Linked DNA regions of Homo sapiens: region 1 is linked to region 2. The links are contacts of gene promoters, found by promoter capture Hi-C in blood cells and fetal thymus (Javierre and others, 2016). All regions are on one chromosome and are shown on one strand. The core of a region is centred on a gene start or on the middle of the fragment in contact, and the rest is flanking DNA. Distances in the headings are between cores, read along the strand shown. Region 1 overlaps CNTN4 (contactin 4). Region 2 holds the start of CRBN (cereblon).

Evidence for each region. The method cuts DNA at HindIII sites, captures the fragments that hold promoters and counts their contacts. A CHiCAGO score of 5 or more calls a contact.
Region 1: a fragment that was not itself captured here is called in contact with the fragment with the promoter of CRBN in region 2 in 1 of 17 cell types (activated CD4 T cells); the score reaches 5.2 in activated CD4 T cells.

The regions. Positions count from the first base shown.
Region 1 is chr3:2,765,171-2,771,815 of GRCh38, forward strand. The region is part of intron 6 of CNTN4 (contactin 4); the gene reads left to right. Among named protein-coding and RNA genes, the nearest start is that of CNTN4-AS1, 290 kb to the right of the region's middle. RefSeq lists enhancers at 1-395, 5,308-5,831. The HindIII fragment of the contact is 441 bases long and covers 2,678-3,118 here.
Region 2 is chr3:3,173,970-3,180,940 of GRCh38, forward strand. CRBN (cereblon) reads right to left here and starts at 5,722. Exons shown (of 11, transcript NM_016302.4): 1 at 5,652-5,722; 2 at 1,194-1,300; 3 at 90-292. The coding sequence starts at 5,718. RefSeq lists a silencer at 5,786-5,955. The HindIII fragment of the contact is 7,719 bases long and covers 3,861-6,971 here.

The DNA of each region.
Region 1 (6,645 bases), core at 1,648-4,147, 410 kb before region 2:
CGTGTTTTGTTCTTTTGCCAGTAAGTGGCAGTGCTGAGTGTAGTACAAAGAGATAGAGGATAGGGTTTCAATATCACCACTCGTACTTGTCGTCACTGAGTTTCTGCACGGAGATGAAAGGATGAGATTGAAGATGCTAACGAAGTCAGGAAAAGCCCACTTAACCGACAGTGCTAGAGAATGGAGCTCAAGTAATGCTGATAGTGCTTTTTTTCCGGGTTAAGAAGACATTTCTCCTGGCTCCCCTTCCTAGAGTATGTCTCACATAGTTATTTTAAGAATTAGAAAACATATGTGAAGTACCTGGTCTGTAGTAAAAAGGGAAACTATTTGTTTTCCTGGGATTAGACAGCTAATCAAATACTGCTCTACTAGCCTGCTGTGTATTTTTAATTTTGCTTAATAATTTTAAATTATTAATCATCAATTAAATATGGGATAGCTATAATTAGATATTTTATATGCCTTAGAGTTTTTAATACCTGTGAATAGCTGCACATATAAGTTCCTCTGTCGTCTTTGTTTCTAGTTATAAAACAGGTGCCCTCAGAGAGCATCCTACAGATTGATAAAGCAAGTGCCACCTGGAGAAACCTAATTCCTTATTCAAGAAATCTTCATATGCCAAGAAATACATAGCAAGTAATAACCTAAAACTGATCAAAATAAATATTTAGTGACTGTTTCTTCAATGATGACACTGTACCCACACACACAGAAACTAACATTGTTGGTGCTGGAAAGGACAAATCACCAGCTTTGAAAATGTATCATGAACTTAGGGATTTGGGCAGTGGGAGAGGAACAGCCTTCCAGAATTTGATCAGCTGTCTATAGCATTTCCAAATGAATCCTACTTTATGATGGCCCTTGAGAAGGCATCCCTCATCACCACTCTTTCCAAATCAGAGTTAAAGCCCAGAGTCACAATAGGGCTTCCTTTGGGGGTTTGGTTCAAAATTTAAATATCACCTGTCTCTGCCACTCTGGTTAATGTGGCCTTCTTCAGTGACTGCCTCTCTCAATGCCCTGTGGATTTCCTTCACCTTTCTCCTGATCGCATCTATAATTTTATCTATAAGTCTACCTTTTGCTTTGTCAGTCCCACTAGAAACTCCACCAGTGCTTCACACACAGTGTTAGATACATTTTTTAGATAATCAGGCTAGTCCAAATGACCATCAGTTAGTGAGTGGATAAAGAACTGTGGTATACATATATATGATGGAATACCACTCAACCATAAAAAGAGAATGAGTTAGTGGCATTCGCAGCAACCTGGATGAGATTGGAGACGATTATTCTAAGTGAAGTCACTCAGGAATGGAAAACCAAACATCGTATATTTTCACTCATAAGTGGGAGCTAAGCTATGAGGACGCAAAGGCATAAGAATGATACAATGGAATTTTGGGACGCGGCGGGGAAAGGTGGGAAGAGGATGAGGGATAAAAGGCTACAAATTGGGTTCAGCGTATACTGCTTGGGTCATGGGTGCACCAAAATCTGACAGATCACCAGTAAAGAACTTACTCATGTAACCAAATACCCCCTGTTCCCCCAAATCCTATGGAAATAAAAAATTAAAAATTCAGGAGATGCAATAGTAGCAGAGCACAACGAAATAACAGAATTAAGGACACATTCGCCATATGTCTCTTTTATATTGAGAACACAGCAATATTAATGACCAGATGATGACCTTCAACCTAAACTGGAAGTTGTGTGACAAAGTCCATGTTGGTTTGGAAGCTAAAGGTGGAAAGTGAGATTAAATACTATAGGGCATGGAATGGTAGTGACCTGCAACTTGGAGCTGATGTAAGGACTTGATAAGTCAAAGCTCACTAGGATGCAATACTAGAAAAAATGGTCTTGGTGTATCACATGGATTAAGTGAGATTAAAAGTAGTTTTTTTATTAGATCTCAAAAAAAATATACCAGGCTAATAAGTCATTCCATGTAAAAGCGAGGGTGACAAAGAGAAGCTGGTAAGAAAGGCAACCTTGAAAGTCTTCACACTTTAGAGCTAAACATGCAAAATATATTCAGAGACAAGATGAATGTGCTTTCCTTTTGGAAGTGATATTGATCTGGGGAGAGGGGGAGGGTGATCTTCCAAAGACTTTATTTCTTTTGTTATCAAGTGATTGGTGTGAGTGCACCCTTTTGATCAGAGGTATGTAGACATGCTTGAGTAACAGCTCTCTCTCTCCTCTTATTGAACTGCTTTTTGTGATTGATTTTTAAAATAAACGAATTGTTTGCTTCAGCTAATCAGGGACTAGTTAGTGTATCCTGAAAAAGGAAGTTTATATAAGTGCTCTTTATTACCTTTACTGAGTGAGTGGGCTTTTTTGTTTTTGTTTTTGTTTTTGTTTTTTAAATTTTCAGTTAGTTGCCCCATTGACAGACAATAGAGATAACAGTGAGTCCATGGAATACCTCATGGTGGAAAATGCACAGCCGATTAGAAAAATGTTCTACTTGAGCGTACCAAACTAATCCCAAACAGTGAATTCTGATCCCCTTTCTGTCTCAGATTTTCTCTATGATCACGTCTTACGATAATAAGAAGCAAAGTCTCTAATGGAAGTTCATCAGTGGCAACAACTGTGGCTAACCTGACAACCCAGCACCTAGTACAGTGCTCACAGGCAGCTGGTGTTCAATAAAAGCTTCTTACATAGCTCACCTTCTCAGTATTTTTGTGTTTTTTTCCTTTAAGTGGTTAGAAGGCAGAATTTAAAATATTGTCACATAGCAGTGGGCGTGTAAGGTCATCTGCTGTTTGCCAACCAAATGGTGAGGCTAGAAAACATTTGCATATAAATGTTACATTTGGTTGAGGCTTTTAAATTACAGAAATGTAGGTAAAATGGTCAGAGTGGCAGTTAGAGATGAACAAATGTTTTACATCTGTGGAGCCTTCATATTTATTGCTTTGAGTGTCATTGCCATTTCCTGCTGGAAATTAAACATCACAAATGTATCCTTCATTTGACCAGGTGGCCTCGATGCTTCTGAAATGAATGGCGAATCCGGTAATATAAATTGTAATCACATCACAAGCATCTTCCTCTTAACCTTGGTAATGATGTGAAATAGTGCATTTTAAGCTTGTTTTGAAGGTTAAGCAGGAAATCTTATCTTGGATAATTAATATTTCAACAAAAATCAATGTGGCTACAGTTAGCAGGTAGGTAATCTGACTAATTGGCTCAATATTAAATTTGTTAACTACAAATTGTCTTTCAGCTGAAATTGTATTGGTAGAAACAAGGAAATTGGTGAAGTATTTACTAGATTTGTAGCACAGTCTTGTTCAGCTTGCTGTAGAGAGCTTGTGATTTAAACATGGTGGACCAATGGGAGCTCATTCTCCAGCCACCTCCACAGCAGTCCTGATGACTTCCCCTATCTACTTTATAATGGCACTTAGGCTGAGGCAGGAACATTTCCTCAGGAAATTGTCACCGTGTCCACAGAAAGTGGGTTGGTCCTCTGTGTCTACTGCTTCACTTTCTCCTTAATAATCCAAGCCAGCACTTTATGCCTTGAAAAAAATAACTAATAGTTAAGTTGTCTATATCGTTTTCCTTTTTAGAAAGTACTTTCAAATCTGTTTTATCTTTTAGTCTTTACAAAGGCCTGTGAGGTATGATTTATCATCATCACCATCCCCATCTTACACATGTAGAATGTGAAGCTCAGAAATAGGAAGTGACTTCCTCAAGTTCGTGATCCCATTAAGGGACAGATCCGAGGATCAAAACCCAGACTTTTGACTTCAAGTCTTGAAGTCTTTTCATTGTACCATATCTTCATTTAAAATGGGGTCCACCCTGAAGCCAAAGAAACACATCCTTACTAGTAGGTATCTGACATTTGTCTTATTTTGTGAAAAAGATATTTTGGGAGCACACCTTCAAATGCTGGTTCCCAAAACTTACCTATACTGAAATTTCCACCAGTCTACGCAAATATGCACTACATTATTAAAATAAGGTGGCCAGGCACGGTGGCTCACACGTGTAATCCCAGCACTTTGGGAGGCCGAGGCGGGCAGATCATGAGGTCAGGAGTTCAAGACCAGCCTGGCCAATATGGTGAAACCCCATCTCTACTAAAAATACAAAAACAATTAGTCGGGCGTGGTGGCGCACACCTGTAGTCCTAGCTATCCTGGTGGCTGAGGCAGAAGAATCACTTGAACCCGGGAGGCAGAGGTTGCCATGAGCCGAGATTGTGCCACTGCACTCCAGCCTGGGCAACAGAGTGAGACTCTGTCTCAAAAAAAAAAAAAACAGAAACAAAACAAAAGGCAGTGTTTAGTCAATTAAAGGACAGTTTTTCTGTTGATACTATCTTTCTGTAATTTTTCACGTTGAAAAGTTCTGTCTTTTATGTATTGATGATGGTAGAAAATTGTGGTGGTACTGGTGGTAACTTTTAGTATCCATAGTTAGAAACACCTATGTTGGTTTCACACACATCTCATATTTCCCCTTAAAATTCTATTGCTCCATTAAATCCAACACTCTGTAAACCAGGATTTTAAAAAACAACATACAGATGATAGAATGGGTGGCAAGTAAAAATGCTTCTTGCCTGCAGCACAGGCCCTTAGAAATCATCAGCGGAGCCAAGGGTCTACAACAAGCAGATCAAAAATAGCAGCAAGACAGGCTAACTATCTTCAGGAATCAATGCCAGCCTCTTATGGCATTCCCTAGAGGCCATCTCTTGGGCCTTGGCACCTGTGCTAGTTTCATGGTTAGATTAGTTATGTCCTGTTGCTGAAGAACAAGGAGTGACTTCTCTTCCATCTCTCTCTGTCTCTTTTTGTTTGTTTGTTTGTTTGTTTTTTTTTTTTGAGACGAAGTGTCACTCTCTTGCCCAAGCTGGAGTGCAATGGCGTGATCTCAGCTCACTGCAACCTCCAACTCCCTGGTTCAAGCAATTCTACTGCCTCAGCCTCCCGAGTAGCTGGGACTACAGGCACGCGTCATCATGCCCGGCTAACGTTTGTATTTTTAGTAGAGACGGGGTTTCACTATGTTGGCCAAGCTGGTCTTGAACTCCTGACCTCGTGATCCGCCTGCCTCAGCCTCCCAAAGTGCTGGGATTACAGGCGTGAGCCACCGTTTCCGGCCCTCTTCCATCTCTTTCTATTTAGCTTTGGAGGAAAATGTTAGAGATTTAAAACCATTTGCTATAAGGCAGTATTGCCTTTTGCACACACAAACCTTCCCTGGTGGGGGAGGGCCAAGGGCCCTCAGCTTCCTTCATCCCAAGAGAGGAAGTGCATTGTTATAAAATCCCTCATCAGTCTGGCTCTACCAAAGAAAAGGTATCATAAAAGCTTCAGATCTCTGCAAAATAGTGTCTCTTTTTCTACAGATCTTTCTTGCCTGGCTTCTACACATGCATCACTGCACTGACCCGTAAGGATTAAGGAAAGTAAACAAACAGAAACTATCCAGGGCTAGAGATAATCAGTGGACCAGGCTGAGCAAAGGAATGTAAATCTAAGTGTCATGTGGCTAAGAACTGCTGTTTGAAAAGCTGACGCAGTGGGAATAGCAAGAGTTGACAGGCAATGCTTAGTGTATGGTGAGATGCTCAGTGTGAGACCAGTTACCATTTGAGGCATAGCTCAGGGGCTCTGCTACCAAGCATGGCAGATAACTCCCAGAAACACACACAATGCATATCCAGGTGATAGTAACAATGTGTTTTACTGTGTTTTCCTCATTTTTTGGTTTGCTTTTCTATTAAAAATTCAGAGAGGGGTGCATATGTGCTTGAAAAATACTGTTTCCCCTTCACTGGTAGTGTCTAGCATCCCTGAGTGGTCTGAAATGGAAAGAGCAACATGGAGCCTCATGCATCTTCACAGAGATTTGTTTCCAAAGTCAGCACTTAAAGCAAAATGACTGTCATTAAAGTTACCCTCAGAATTCTCTTAAGTTGGAAGTATACATACCCATGGGAGATAGGCATGCCACCTCTCCCCCGAGGATGGAACAGACAAGTAATTGTTTCTTTGGTTGAAAAGCAGGTGAAGAATTAACTTAAGTTTAGAGCCACATTGCATGAGAAGTGGGTATCTTTAAATACTCTACAACATGGGAAGGTACTCTCTCTATGTGAAGCCAGTGAAAATTGAAACTGAAAAATAAAAGAGATTTGGGTCCCTCATCTCTAATGCAGTGTTGGAAACTGATCAAGCAAGCCACATGGTGGGCAGAATTACCCACACTATTTACATGGCTACCTCTTCTCTCTCACACATATCACTCCAATATGTGACCTCTGGCAAATCATTCTACCTCTCTGAGTCTCAGTTTCATTCTCTGTATAATGGGGATGATGTGAGTATCAATGGCCATTTTAAGGACCAATTGAGACAAAGTATGTTGACATATTTTCTTCCAATTATGTAAATGTCTTATATAAAATAAGGCATGCTTTATTGAAAGAAGATAATAGAAAAAGATCTAAAGAAAAAAATCTGAAAGGAGTAAAAATAAATAAGGAAGATCTTGTACTTTAGTGGAAGAGAAAGACATACAGTATTAATTCCAGGATATTATGTGGTAAATGAAAAGACAGCAGTGTGCACAGTATGTAATGAAAAC
Region 2 (6,971 bases), core at 4,472-6,971:
GAAATAACAGCCTGCTTTGGCTTCAACACTGACCACTGCAATTACCCATGAGAGGGAATGTATTAAGCAAATGGACTCTAATATTTTACCTGTATGCAAGAACAGCAAAGGTTCTATCTTTCTGAATTAAATTCCGCACCATACTGACTTCTTGAGGGTGAAAAAGCTGAAGAGGTAATGTCTGTCCGGGAATCAGGATCATCATCACTTGTGGAAGAACTGGAATCACCTGACAGCTGTCGTCATCGTGCAAAGTCCTGCCATGAAATTCTTCCATATCAGCACCTAGGTACTATATAAAAACATATATAGGTATAGTGTCATGATCGATATGTAATAAAAATGTAAGCTCAACAGACTAAAGAGCAAATCACATTAAAAGAAATACAGGCCGGGCACAGTGGCTCACACCTGTAATTCCAGCACTTTGGGAGGCCGAGGTAGGCGGATCACCTGAGGTCAGGAGTTCAAGACCAACCTGGCCAACATGGTGGAACCCTGTTGCTACTAAAAATACAAAAATTAGCCAGGTGTGGTGGTGGACACCTGTAATCCCAGCTAATCGGGAGGCTGAGGCAGGGGAATCACTTGAACCTGGAAGGTGGAGGCTGCAGTGAGCTGAGATTGTGCCACTGCACTCACTCGAGCTTGGGCGACAGAGCAACACTCTGTCTCAAAAAAAAAGAAAAAAATACAAATGGGGTTACAAACACTTAATAAACGTGGTATATAAGCATCCCATGTTAAAATATAATTTTTAATCTAACTTTAACTCTTAGAAGAATTTCTAATCTTTTATGAATATATCACAAACACAGAAATTCAAGAATTTTTTTAGTACAAAGTATTATTTTTACCAAGAAATATCTCTATGCCCACATATCACAAACAGTAAGTATAAAATGTTAGTATGTTCAATAACACTCTAGTACCTAGAAGTACAGAGAAGTATTTAATAGCTCAATTACCAGAAAGAGTATAAAGAGCAACAATTCCTCAAACAATTCTACCACAACATAGTATTAAGCTTCTTAAAAATTACAGTTAAATGTTTATCTACTGGCAAATAGCCCATGTCCTCATCCACAATTTCTGATATCTAGTAATACAAATATCAGTCACTTGTTTTTATGAACTTTTATCTACATTTAAATGTATATCTATTATATTAGATCTGTCACTAAATTACATACTGTATGTGATGTCGGCAGACTGGTGTCAAAATTTATGATGTTTGGTTTTTTGGCTTCTTTACTATCCTGGTCTTCAACTTCCATTTCATCTTCTTCCTCACTCTCTGCTATAAAAGTAGAATATTGTAAGAAAAAAAAAAAGATGAATGAAAACCTTTCAAACATGTAATTCCTTCTTCAAAAGAGGGGTACTTCTAAAACCACATGCATTTGGTAAACTCTACAGCACCGTGAAGAGGGAGCCAGAGGACTGGGGTCCGTGCTGGGCTCTGTCAGTAGCTATTTTTTTTTTTTAAGTCAACTGTGAATTTTAGAATAGTTTAACATTTACAGAGAAGTGTAAAGATAGTACAGAATGCTCCCGTGTGTCACACATCCTTTTCCCCTATAGTTAATTTATATTAGTATGGTACATTTGCCACAACGAAGGAATCAGTCTTGGTACATTACTCTAACTAAGCTTCATATTTTAAATGGATTCCCTTAGTTTTTATCTAGTCTTTTTGCGTTCCAGGATCCCACTTTACATTTAGTTATCAGGTCCCCCTACCCTCCTCTGGGCTAGGGGGGTTTTCAGACTTTGCTTGTTTCTGAGTTTTGAGGAGTACTGGTCAGGCCTTTTGTAGAGTATCCCTCAACTGGGTTTTGTTTGATGTAATTCCCATGATTAGACTGAGGATACGTGTTTTAGGGAGGAAGACCACAGAAGTGAAGTGTTGTTATTCTTTTCCTTTTTAGAAATGGGGTCTGTTGCCAATGTGCTGTTTTTATTACATATCCAGCCTATATATTATGAACTATTCCTGCTGTTAACCTTGATCACCTGGCTACAGCAGTGTGTGTCAGGTTTTTCCGCTGTAAAGTTCCTTTCCCCCCTCCTTTTCACATTGTACCCTTCGGAAGCAAATCACTAGGTGTAGCCTCCACTTCAGGGGTGATGAGTTATGCTCCACTCCCTTGAAGAGGAAATGTAAGTTATTTAAAATTCTTCTATATGGGAGATTTTTCTCTTCTCCCTCACCAGTAACTAATTTTAACACCTTAGACAACTCATTCTGCCCAATTAAATTTTAGTTTCCTCATCTGCAAAATGATAGGCTTCAACAAGTCAACCTCTAACGTTCTCTCAAACTCTCAACTTCAATCAGTTCCTACATAAGTAAGAAAAGAAACAAAGCAGGCAAGATCTGTTAATTAAAACTGAGAGAAAGATAACCTAGCAGGAAGAATTTCACAGCATTTTTCTAGTGACAACATTTCCCTGGCAGTCGCTACATTATCTTAAAATGAAGGCCAGGTGTGGTGGCTCACACCTGTAATCCCAGCACTTTGGGAGGACGAGGCAGGCAGATCACTTGAGGTCAGGAGTTCAAGACCAGCCTGGCCAACATGTTGCAACCCCATCTCTACTAAAAACACAAAAGTTAGCCGGGTGTGGTTGTAGGTGCCTGTAATCCCAGCTACTGGGGAGGCTGAGGCAGGAGAATCGCTTGAACCCAGGAGGTGGAGGTTGCAGTGAGCTGAGATTGTGCTATTGCACTCCAGCCTGGGCGACAGAGCAAGACTCCATCTCAAAAGAAAGAAACAAAGAAAATTTTGCAATCATTTGCATACTATTTTGCTTAATTTTAAATTTAAAAATAAAGTTTGCATGAAGCATAAAACATTTTAAAAGAATGTCTTAGAAAACCAGATGTTACCAATGACAGCAAAGAAAATTAGAAAACGCTACACAATACATATGCTATTGTACTAACTGTGAGTCTGTCCTTTTCATACAAACTATGAGTAAATTTCCTATCCTAGACCAGTGACTCTCAACCACAGGTGATTTTGCCCCTCAGGGGATATTGGTTGCAATAACTAAGGGAGTCCTACTGGCATCTAGTGGGTAGAGGCCAGGGATGCAGCTAAATATCCTACAATGCACGAGACAATCCCACCCAAAGAATTCTCCAGCCCAAAAGTCCAGTGCTGAGGTTGGGAGACCCTGGCCTAGACTAACAATAAAGAATTACTGAATCTCATTTCTCACCTCCCAGTTCATGTATTTTTAAATGCCCCAAATAAACTTCTAAATCGATAAAATGTCATTACGAAATAATCATTTGTTTTCCTTTGCATATCATTATTTAAGTCAAACCACCTCTAGCCAGGCCCCTGACAGAAAATAAAAATGATTTTCAATATGGTAACTGCCTTGGACTTTCTATTTATTATTACAACTTCCTAGATATAAAACTTTGTCAAAAACAGAATTACTTCAACTTATATGTAAATAGCCAATGGTCTAACACTTCATACAAATTTTCCTTGGAACATGTAAGTTTCACTGAGATAAAAAAAGAGCTATCTAAATGGATGACAAAAATATTCTGCATCAAATTGTTTGTATTTCCAACTCTGACAGTATGGCTATCACTTGGCATGCAGCACAACCCACTTTATTGCTCTACTACAGAAAGTTTAAAAGATAAACTATTAGCTCAAAGGCTGGAATTAATATTGTTAAAAATTTACATTTTAACTGTTCTGACTCCTAGTCTCTAAATAATTTCTTTAGTAACCTTTTTTTCATAAATATGGCTAAAAACCACTTTCCCCTACTCAGTTATGTTTATTAATGTTTCATTTGCCTAGGATAAACTCTTCACATCTCAAATATAAAGCTTTTTGTTGGAACTTAGAGGATTTACTCTTCAGAACAACTCGTACTACATGGAATTATGGAAAGCCCAGTGTTTCCCTACAAATAAAATTTACGTAATTTGGAGAGGCATTATTGCTATATCTACACCATCTCTGGGCCCTCTCCCGACGCTTTTCTGAAAAACAAAAAACAAAACAAAACAAACAAAAAAAAAACAAACAAAAAACCACGCTGACTGTTCAGAGCTATCAGTGAAGTCTGATGACTCATCTCATGCAGAGGCACGATGTGAATGTCGACAGAAGATCAGTATCCTCCCTCTTCTATTCACCATTCTCCCTGAAACACCGGATTTGGCACAGAGAGTAGGGCTAATGTCTCTGAAAAAATAGCTCAGCTTTCCATCAAAGGCTGGCACACTTACCCTTGTGTCAACTCAGCTAGAATGGCTTCGAGAACAACCAGTGACTATGGTTTATTTTTACAGAAAAGTTCTCTCCTATATGGTGGGCACGCACTCAGTCTCTTCCTCTTTTAATCCATGCTGCTACCAGTGGACAAATTAATCTTCCAAGCATAGATTTCTTTAGGCAATTACCTGAAACCTAAAACTGTTTCTTGGCAATCCACAGGAAAAACCCAAACCCACTGGCAAGAGATGCCAGTTTCCCAGCAACTTAGACCCAATATACCTCCTAGGCCTTATGTCCCACAACCATATCCTAAATATGTGCTTTTAGATGTCTCCTGATCTACCTGAAAGGCTTTTTCCCAAATCCTCTGACCCTTAAACAACCTCTGCCTCTGAAGAGCCACAACAGCATTCATTTATCTGGCCCTAAATCAACCGCCTCTGCAGTTGATTTACGTTTAGTTATATTCTCAGCAGCCCCGCCTAGACAGTAAACCTCAATTATCAGATTGTGTATTACCTCTCGTTTCATCTCCACAACACCTAACATACTTGTCATATAACGAAGGGACTCAAGTAATACTTTCAAGTTTGGATGATACACCTTTTGGAAAGCATCTCTTGAAAGGCATTCCATGAAAAGTTTATGCAATATTCCATGCATTTTTTTTTTTGTTCAGTATTTCAACACAAGGCCAAAGTCTAAACATTTCACACAACATACAGGAAAAAGAAAAACTAAGTATCTCTGATTAAGCATAATCGTACATGCCTGAGAAAGACCGATAGTAAGAAAAACAAAACAGAGAAGTGGTTTAGAGATATAATGACAGACACACCCGGGTTGGAATCCTGACTCTGCTGTGTGACCTTGGGCAAGTCATTGAACTAATCTGCAAATCCAATACTCGCTTATCAAATCGGAAACTGAAAACTGATGTGGGAAGGATTAAAAGGCGACATGCATGCAAAGCGTTAACTGCACGGCTCGTAACATGGTAAGTGCTTAGTACATGTTAGCTGTCACTCTTATTAAAAGGAAGGAGACCAGCAAAAGTAACCGCTGTGAATCTGACCCGGTCCTCTAGTTTCAGAGCATTTCCTAGGAGCTAAACTCAGAACACAAGGAGGATGGAGAGGATGGGTTTCCTGTTCTTAATAGCAAATGCTCCCCCCGACACCCTGGCTCACGGCTCGGGGCAACAGAGCAGCGAAGAAAGCGCCGCGACTCCATCGCTGGCCGAGGGCCGACGTGAAGCAGCTTTCCGGTGCGGCCCTGCTGGGCTGGCTCGCCAGGCTTGGCGCCCCCACGCCCGCCTCCCAGGCCCAGCTGCACCGCTAGCGGCTCCGAGCCTCGCCCCACTCCCGACTACAGGGAACTACTCCGGGCGGTTACCAGGCAGGAGCGGCAGGTGGTTGCCCATGTTGTGCGCAGCGTCCTGCTGATCTCCTTCGCCGGCCATGTCTGTTTACCCGCAAAGGAGGCTGGGACAGGGCGGTGCCGAAGACTCCGAGGGAGGGCCCGTGTCGCGCGGCTGCCGCGCACCGGGGCCACAGCGCCCCCTGGCGGCCCCAGGGGAGCAGACGGCGGCGCGTACCCAAGCCTGAAAGTGATGGCCTAGGCGGGAGGGACAATTACAGGCCTGCGCTCCGTCCCGGGGACAGAACGCCGTCCCCTGCCATCCACGGCTGAGTGCCCGGCGTACACGCTGCAGAGCCCTCACTTTGTTCCAGCCCTTAGCATGACTTATTTAATCCTGATATTTTGCATATGGAGAAACTGAGGCTGAGAGCCTTTAGTCTCCACCTTGTTTTTAAACGAAGGGGGCAGGGAGCAAATAGAAACCTGTTCATGCAGCATTAGTTTCAATTCTTAAAATAAGAAGCATATATGTGAAGGCTGGGGAAATCCATCAGTTATTCCGAGGGTGGTTGAATTATTGCTGATTTTCTTCAGTAGTTTCAATGTATGTACATACAACTTCAATAACTTCAGTAGTTTCCATATATGTACATTACATTCCAAAATTAACAAGTATTAATCAGAAACATACTTGAAATGATGATTGCACAGAATGGAAAACGCCTTATAATTGGTAAATAAAATTGTCTGAATATAAACTAGCCTACTCATTATGACTTCAGCTATGTAAAAACAAGTCACTGTGGCAAAAAAGAAAGACTATGTAAAAAATGAAGATAATTCTGTTATAATGGTGGAGTTGTGACTGGTAAGATATTTGTTTTGGAGGGAGGACAAAAGTTTTCGTAGTGTATTTCAGTATCACTTTTTCAGCGAGGAAGGAAAACTGAAAAATCCTTAAATGAAATACAACATCTAAACATGGTAGTGGTGGTGGTGGGCGGAGGCTGAGAGGAAGCAGCAGCATTGCTCAACAGAAAAGTCATGGATCTGAGATTTGAAAAAATGATTTCAGAAAATTTGCCTCCCTGATAAGTTACAAGCAGAAAACTCCCTTGTGACAGAGGCTTGTGAATCATTCCTGTGTCATTTTGCCTCCTGTCTCCGAATCAGTCTGTGGTCTTCGTCAAATCACTTATGGCTGCGGGCCTCAATTCGCCCATTTGCAAAATAAGAACGAACCAAATAGTGTCGCCTATTTGTTCCAGTTAATAATGTCTGCAACATGAATCATAGCATCACCTTTTACGATGAGGTTAATAACAATTACATATACTACGTAATGATTTAACG